Regions from separate parts of the Homo sapiens genome. Here region 2 is linked to region 1. Evidence: promoter capture Hi-C in human tissues and cell types (Jung and others, 2019). All regions are on one chromosome and are shown on one strand. The core of a region is centred on a gene start or on the middle of the fragment in contact, and the rest is flanking DNA. Distances in the headings are between cores, read along the strand shown. Region 1 holds the start of NKX2-8 (NK2 homeobox 8). Region 2 overlaps SLC25A21 (solute carrier family 25 member 21).

Region 1 (4,274 bases), core at 625-3,124:
TTGCGCGACGGCTGATGAGGGCGCGCCAGGGACCCTGGCGCCCAAGGAGATGGGGCTGCAGGGAGGCGGACGGAGAGCGTTCCAGGCGTTCGGCTCCGGCCCTGCTCCAATCGCAGAGCGCGCTCCAAAGTCGAGGGTAGCCCCAGGTGCCGCCCTGCGGCCTCACCAGTTCCAGGAGACCAGGGCGGGGGATGCTAAGTGCTGGTAGGCGGGGAAGAGGCCAAGCGCCGAGCCGGGACCGAAGGCAGGGTAGCCCGGCAGAGGGCAGGCGGCGGCTGGAGGGGCGCCGCACTTCTCCTGGGCCGCGGCGGTTCCCACCTCGCCACCGCCGCCGCCGCCGCACGGCTGCCCGTCGCGAACAAGCACCGGCACCACCACGCGACGCAGCAGGCCGGGCGCGGCGTGCAGCTCGGCGGATGCTGCCAGGTCAGGCGACTCCGCCGCCCCTGGAGCGCGAGCGCGCTTCAGCTTGTAGCGATGATTCTGGAACCAGATCTTGACCTGCGTGGGCGTGAGGCGAAGCAGGCTCGCCAGCTGCTCGCGCTCGGGCGCAGACAGGTACCGCTGCTGCCGGAAGCGCCGCTCCAACTCCAGCGTCTGCGCCTTGGAGAATAGCACCCGCCGCTTCTTCCTTTTCTCGGCGTCCGAGCCCGGAGACGCGGGCCTAGCGGACGGCCGCTGCGACGAGTCTGGCGGGCTGGTCTCCAGGCTGCTCTCGTCCGAGGCTAGGGACAGCAAAGGAGACACGGGTGGGTGAGACGCCGGACCCTACGAGGGCCTGCTGCCCTTCTGGCGCGGGCGTGGAGGCACTGGCCAGAGGGCACGCCCACTAGCCCGAGACTTTCGGGATGAGGCCATTTCCTGAGTCCACATCTGGACATCCACCTCTCCGAATGCGGTGACCTCATTCATACCACAGCGGTCATCAGCGGGCCTGAGATCGTGCCCCGAAAAAACCCACCCCGGGGCCCTCTTAACATGTCCGCACCGGTAGTTGCGCTGGCCGACCAGTTTATCACAAGCTGGGTCACCAGCGCCGGCCTCCTCCAGGTCGACTGCACTGCAGTGTGCCGAGGTTTGCGGAGCCCTGAGTGGGAACGGGGTGGGGGTAAACTCGCCAACACTGGCCATCCCAGACGGAGGCCTGGAGATCGTGGCCGTGTTTTCAGGCATGGAGAGGGGGCGGGGGGTGGGGTGGGGGCGGCAGGTGGCGGCGCGTTTTAAATTTCAATTATTCCGACCTCTAGAAATCGTCAGACACAGAAACCCCAAATCTCGGAGCACCAGTGCCAGGCAGGGATCTGCTCTTAGGATGTGCCGACCGGGATGAATGCGTTAGGGGTTCGAGGACAGGGCTCCCGTTTCCAAGACTGAGGAAATCTAGACTCTGGGCTGGGATTTCGGCTTTCCGGCCCCTCGTGGGCTGGGCCCTTGATTCTGCTGCCCCACGCCTCCTACCTCCCACCCCGCACCGCAATCCACCACGCACTTACAAGGGTAGTGGCCGCGCTCCGAATCCAGCCAGGCGGCGCAGGGGTCGGGCTGGGGGGCGCGTGGTTCTGGCTCCCGCCTCGGCAGGTGTTGCGCGTCCTGCTCGGGTAAATCTAGAAGGCTGCGCACGGTGAAGCTCAGGCGTCCAGAGGTGGCCATGGCCGAGGAGGGGAAGGAGGCGGGGGCAGGGCAGGCTGGGAACGGAGGGGCGGCCGGGACGCCGCTCCTACGGATGGGCGTGGGAGGCGCTCGCCATGCGCTGGCAGCCGGGATATTAGCGCATTTACAGCGGAATCTCTGTTTATATAAACAGCTCTTCCCACCCAGGCCGCTTTGAAAGCCGAGGTCCGGGTCTCCAGGGTGTTAAGTACCTGAATGAGCACTGGACCAGAGCCGGGGCGAGCCCGGAAGGTGCCACCTCCGCCCCCGCCCCGCCCCGCACCCCGCCCCGCACCCCGCCCCTTGGCGCCCAGTTACCTCCCAGAGGCTGCAGGAAGCAGCATTTGGCATTAGCGATTCTGTCTGATTAGCCCAAAGTGGGGACAGATAATGGGGATTGTTACCAGTGAATAACATCTTGGGTGGCGAGCGGTGGCCACCACCCGCCTGACCCAGCCCCAGCTTCCTCCTCCTCCTCCTGGGCTGACTTGAGGCCAGGCCCCGCGGGAGCGCCGGGAAGGGTGGGGGTGGCAGGGGTGGGTTTATTAGCACCCAGGAATTTATTCCCTGTTTGCTTTATTCTTCGAGCTTGTTTGCTGGAGTGGTAGTTTCCCGCAATTATCCAGAAAGTGATTTACAAAGCGGCGTTAAACTCTGGCGCGCTCCCTTTCTCTTTTTGGTTGGGCCCCTCTAAGATTCAGGATGACAAGTTTCAGGAGGGCGTAAAGATTAGCCTGGCCCTGCCAGCATTGGCCCAGGGGTTTCAACGGCCGCTGGGAGCCTCGGATCACACCATACATCCCCCTAACAGCCTCAGAGGTGCTGAGGAAGGGCTGGGACAACATTCGGAGCCCCAGCTCCACGTCTCCACAGGCCGGCAAAACAGAAGAGGCTTGTAGCCAAGCTACTTAGGTCTACAGTGCCTGTCTCTTTGGCCCAGCTTCGCCCGGCCGCTGCCGATCTCGGAGCTCGGAGGCCGAGCTCCACAAATTTGGGTCCAGGCCCGCTTTAGAGCCCCTGGGCGGGGGCGCTTCTCAGGGCATCCTGTGAGGGCTTTGAGGCCTCCTTGGAGTCGCCAGATGAACTGGTGCCGCCTGTGCGCCTTGGCCCCATAGCCTCAACGGCACTCTCACTGCCTGGGCTTTGGTCTTTGCCCAGGAGCCTGCCCATGGCCTACGCTCCCCGCTCGCAGCATGGCAGACCCTGACGAGGCTGCCCGCCTTGGTCCGGGAATGGACCGATCGGGAGAATTAGGACAGGGCCTACCCGGCAGAAAATACCACCGGCCATGGGTTTCTCTGGGATCTTCTAGTTTCCACAGTTCCACCCTAGAAAATGATCAATGTAGGAGGCGCAGGGAACAGGCCGCCGTGGATACATTTTGTTGGGCCATGGCCTAGCTCTGGCCGCGCTTCAATCTACAGAGGAACGCCCTCTCAGAGGCCTCTCCTACTGAAGCTAGTAGTTTGGATATTTAGTTGCTAAATTGTAGCGAAGGGCTCTGTACTTGGGTGGCTGCACCAGAAGTCCTGGCTCCTCCCGGGCTGAACTCGAACCTGGCTCGGATGCGGCGGCGGCGGCCCTGTCAAGCCCCGCGCACCCTCCCCAGCAGCCTCCCTATCAAGCGTGCCCGAGGTGCCCGGAGCTGCACCGCGCGCTGGGTGGTCGGGCGGAGGCAACCCCAATACAGGCCAACTGCTAGGCCGCGGACAAAGGGGAAATGGAGCTCGACGCCCCGGACCTGTTGGAAGCATTTGTTCCAGTCAAGATTTTGCATTTGTTCAGTCCGGAATAATGCATGATTGACGTCTGCTCACAATGCGCTTTAACGCGCCGGGATAAATCGGAGCTTGTCCGGTGTTGTCATGGTTTTCAATGGGGTTCAATGGGATTGGGAGCACGATCGACTCTGCTGGCCGTCTTTCCGCGGCCCTGGCAATAGATTTATTAGTTATGTCTTTTTAAATAAGATTAAACTGAAATGACTTGGCTGTCCTCTCTGCAGACGGGGCCGGGGCGGGAGCCTGGAGTGGGCAGGGGACAGCGGAGTCTGGAAACCCGCCGCGCACCGCTCCTCAGCTCCCGAGCCCCCAGCGTCTAGAGAGTGGGCAGGTCGCAGACTGGCTCCAGGCCTCGTGGACTTATCTCTGGCCAGAGCCCGAGGCCTGGCAATCTCTGCCAGCCCACCTCCCTAGTGAGAAGCTGAGGCACTGACAAAGACCGTCCTGGGGAAGCAAGTGTTAAGACTGATTCCCAAATTCGGTCTTGAACTATGAGATTGTGTAAGGTAGAAGGAGCTCTGGCCTGGAAATCGGTTCGCATCCTCGCTCTGCCCCTACCTATCTCTAACCACCTCATTTCTCTAAGCTTCCTTCCTTCCTTTTTTTTTTTAAAATTAATCTGATACAGAAGATAGTAGGAGAATAGATTTGGTAATTTCTAAGGACCCTACCAGTTTTATGATTCTGTATCTCAGGAATTTTTCTAAACCTATCTTCATTGTAGCATTTACCAGCCGGATATTTAGACTCCCTCCTCCCTCAGGTTCTCGAATTCTTAGCCCCAGGACTGACTCCGTCTCCAGGATGTTCTAGGAGAGGAGGTGTCATCTTTTGAGTTTCCCA
Region 2 (4,274 bases), core at 829-3,328, 360 kb after region 1:
TTCTTAAAGAAGCTGGAAGCTTCGCTGAACTATCTTGGGACAAGAACTAAGCAGGGAGCAGAACCGTGCTGGCACCTAGTGGCGGACGGCGGTAGGACAGTTGTCTACCTTGGCTCTCAGGCACGTTGGGAGAACACATTTTAATTATTTTAATCTATGCTTTCTATCACACATATTTGAAAGGAAGATAAATGAAAAGTATCTGGAGTAATTAATCCTAACTATGCAACCAAATGTTATGATTTTAATTTTATGCAAGGACAGAAAGAAAATTTGGAGGGGTAGAAGTGGTGGAGAGGAAAAAGACCAGCTGTGGTGAAAAATATAACGTGGTGAAAAGACTTGTGCAATTTTCTTTTCCCTTGATATGTTCTGCCAAAGCTGGTCACACTAGTCTGTTCTCCATCAAGCAAAGAATTTTGATGAAATCAAGTGACCGGCTGTTTGTGAAGTTCAGTCTGTATTTGGGACATAAGTAACCAAATAGTACTTATACTACTTATACACTAAATTTGGAGTTTTCAAACTAAAATATTATGTGCAGAGGTATAGTTATTTTTCCTTCATGGCACTTTTTAGTAGGAGGGTAAATTTAGATTTGAGCCCCTCCCCTAGTCCACCCCCATCTTTTGGGACTGGGGAAGGTATGGTTCCAGTAGAGAGCTGCTTCTGCCTTAGAAGGCAATGAGTCAGAAACGCAAATCTGAGCAAAGGCGGAATTACTACTACATGCCAGAGAGAGTCACACATCAGTCAAGTCCACCAAGTGAACTCTATAGTCTTCCCAATTGTGAGACTCTATGATTTGCTGAAGAAAGAATTCTATTATATTTTCCTACATAGGGAGATAGATTTTAGTCACTGTCCCTGTGTTTAAGACTGAGTCTCACTCTGTCACCCAGGCTGAAGTGCAGTGGTGCAATCTCAACTCACTGCAGCTCTCTGCCTCCCGGGTTCAAGTGATTCTCCTGCCTCAGCCTCCCGACTAGCTAGAATTACAGGCACGCTCCACCACACCCGGCTAATTTTTGTATTTTTAGTAAAGACACCCTTTCACCATGTTGGCCAGGCTGGTCTTGAGCTCCTGGCCTCATGTGATCTGCCCGCCTTGGCCTCCCAAAAGTGCTGGGATTACAGGCATAAGTCACCGCACCTGGCCCTAGGCTTGTTTTGTATCATGTCTTAGACATGTAGGGGTTTATTTCAGAGCACACAAATGAACTATTCTAAGTATTCACACTATTGGAGGGCTGCTTCTGTCCCTCTGAGTCCCTGCCCTGCTGCTATATGTAAGACCAAGATGAACTGCCCCTGGTAAATCGGTCCTTGTGAAAGTCTGGGGAAATGCCAGGTAACCCAGTGACAGTTCCACTTGGCTCTTTGTAGCTTACACAGTACCAAACCTGAGAGAGCACTGCAAAGTCAGGTCAGGAAGGTTTCGCCAAGGCTTGGAAATAAGAACAGGGTATGAGTCTTATACCACCTAACTGGGCCTTCCAGTTAGCAAGAAGCCTTTGTTTAAAAAGCTGGCTAAGAAACCTCCTAGTAACATATTTCCCTGTAACAAGTTTAATTAATTAATTGAAAAAATACATAGTAAAAGATGTTTATATTAAATATAAAATTATCACCACTAAATTTATTAGAGGAGATAAAAGGCAACAGATTGGGCCTAATTCACTCCAAGAAAAGGATACCCAATTCCCTCTGAAATCCCAAATTCATACATATAAAAATTCTGCTCTAATCCTTCTCCATTTACATCACAGAGCCATGCTCCCGTGTTGGCCTCTGTACTGAAGAGTGACCAGAGGTAAATGCAGGTGCCTCTGGCCAGTTGTCAAGGTCATATCCTGAATCCTGTCGACACCTGGGACCCTAGCCCAGCATACTGTCGGGCAAGGACAAACCCATAGCCTGCCATTAATAGGGGAGGAAAGACATGTGGACAAGTAGCAGACAAAAGTGATTGTCCCAGTGGGCTTTGAGAAATTGTTATGGGAGTCCAGAGGAAGAAAACTGCCTTCAGCTTGCGGTAGGAGTTGGCAGGTTGCGGGTGGAGGGCATAGGGTATCAAGGAAGGCTTTCTGAAGGAGGCAGCTGGGCCTTGAGAGATGACTAACACTTAGTAAACCATGCTGGGGGAGGAAACATCACAGATAGTGAGAGGATCTCCTCTCTCCCTCATCCACACAGGCTGTGGAGAGCGACATCTGTTCCACAGTCTTCTCCCTGAAGGGTGGGGCTCCAAGGGCCGGCTCCAGTGTAAGCATAAACAAGTGACTACGAATGTCCTATTCAATACACAAGAAAACTCATGAACATTTGTAAAGCATTTCTAAGCCACAGAATTCATATGTGCCTCCTTAACAAAGATAAATTTCACATTTTTCCCTTTCTCACAGTTTGTCCCATCTTCTCTCATTTTATTGAGTAGAATGAGCCTTACCTCAAAAGCCAAACAAACACTGACCCAAGATGAGATGCCCTAAAGCTAGGTCCACTGCCTGAAGCTGACTCATCCCATCACAGTTTATTTTTGTTGTGTGAATCAATTCTAATTTTCAAACTGAAATATATGATGGTTTATCATCATTTTGACCTTTTCATAACACTGCTGGTACAGTTGCTGAGAACATGCCAAATCATGTTGATTTCTTCCTTTTTCTAGGAGTGTTCATCCTAGTCAGTCTTCTCAGGACAACCAAAAGCCAAAACCGAAACAAACCAAAAACCTCTTTCCCCTGACTCAGATTATTATTATTTTTAGTTCTTCAGGACTACCTGTGAGGATAAGAAGAAGTGGTTACCCAGTCCATCAGCAAAATGTCCCCATAATCCTTTCAAACTACTGAGAAATAAGGTATGTTATCTTCACTTAATGAAGAAACTGAGACATAAAAGTAAAGAATATTGCTACAAATGGAGGCAGAAATACAAGTTGATACCATGTGCCCAAGTGAGACATCTCATTTTTAGCCTGTGTAAGACAAATTTTAACCATATAATCCAGAAAATCCACTTCTGGGCATATACCCCAAAGAACTGAAAGCAGAGACTTGAAGAGATATTTGTACCCCCACATTCACAGCAGCGCTATTCATGAGAGGCAAGAGGTAGAAGCAACCCGTGTTCATCGACAGATGAATGGAAAAACAAAATAAAGTATATCCATACAAATGGAATATTATTTAGCCTTAAAAAGGAAGGACATTCTGACACATGCTAACATGAATAAACGTTGAGGACATTATGCTACATGAAATAAGCCAGTCCTAAAAGGACAGATACTGTGCAATTCCACTTATATATGGTATATACCTAGAATAATCAAATTCATAGAAACAGAAAATAGAATGTTGGCATCAGGGGCTGGGGGAGAAGATAATGGGGAGCTAGTGCTTAATGGGTACAGAACTTCAATTTTGCAACAGGAAAAGAGTTCTGGAGATGAATGGTGGAGATGGCTGTGCAATAATGTGAATGTACTTAATGCCACTGAACTATACACTTAAAAATGGTTAAGATGGTAAATTTTATGTTATGTGTATTTTGCCACAATAAAAAACTAACTTTATTTAATGAAGAAAAAAGGTGAAAAAATTTCACCATTCAAAGTCCAAAATAAGAATTTGAATATATAAACATAAGCAAGCTAGCAACATAACCTCTAGCCCTATGATGTACCTATTATGTGAATGCTTCCGTTAGCACAAGAAAAAAGGATCAGATAAATTAGTGAATACCTCAAGGATGTAAGTAGAAACATTTTAGATTTATAGCAAGAAGCAAGTAGAATGGTGTTATCAACTGCTTATAAATATTAAACACATAGGAGACAAGTTTGCAAATGCAAACTTACTTCTTGTCATACTGTACCAGTGTAGTACAAATTATATCATTAAAATACAATGTTAAAAGCTTTAAAGCGTCAAGGATCTCACAATCCATAGGTATGTTCAAGAATTAAGTCCTCTTGTTTCTAAATAATGTCTGTATTTAGTATCCAGTAGCCATCATTTGTACAGGAGAAAGAAAGTGAGGGTAGTTAGTTTAAATGTAATTAATTAAGTTTACCATGAGTAAACTTATATTTGATTGACTATTAATACCAATAAATAAATGATTCCATACGTAAATAATAGCAATAGTAATTCCAATGAAAGTTTAGTGTTTGTGTCCTTAAATCTTTCAATGGCATTAACATGTGCCCTTAAACTTCTATTTTGCCTGCCTGGTATAAATAGAATTAAGAAAAATATCTTAATGTTAAA

Evidence for each region. The method cuts DNA at HindIII sites, captures the fragments that hold promoters and counts their contacts. A contact is called where the count stands out against the background at its distance.
Region 2: a fragment that was not itself captured here is called in contact with the fragment with the promoter of NKX2-8 in region 1 in 4 of the 25 tissues and cell types used here (hippocampus, lymphoblastoid cells, mesenchymal stem cells and 1 more).

What each region holds. Positions count from the first base shown.
Region 1 is chr14:36,580,740-36,585,013 of GRCh38, forward strand. NKX2-8 (NK2 homeobox 8) reads right to left here and starts at 1,875. Exons shown (of 2, transcript NM_014360.4): 1 at 1,494-1,875; 2 at 1-725. The coding sequence starts at 1,650. The coding sequence ends at 163. RefSeq lists enhancers at 1-455, 456-1,266. The HindIII fragment of the contact is 13,278 bases long and covers 1-4,274 here.
Region 2 is chr14:36,942,334-36,946,607 of GRCh38, forward strand. The region is part of intron 1 of SLC25A21 (solute carrier family 25 member 21); the gene reads right to left. Among named protein-coding and RNA genes, the nearest start is that of MIR4503, 7.9 kb to the right of the region's middle. The HindIII fragment of the contact is 5,369 bases long and covers 1-4,274 here.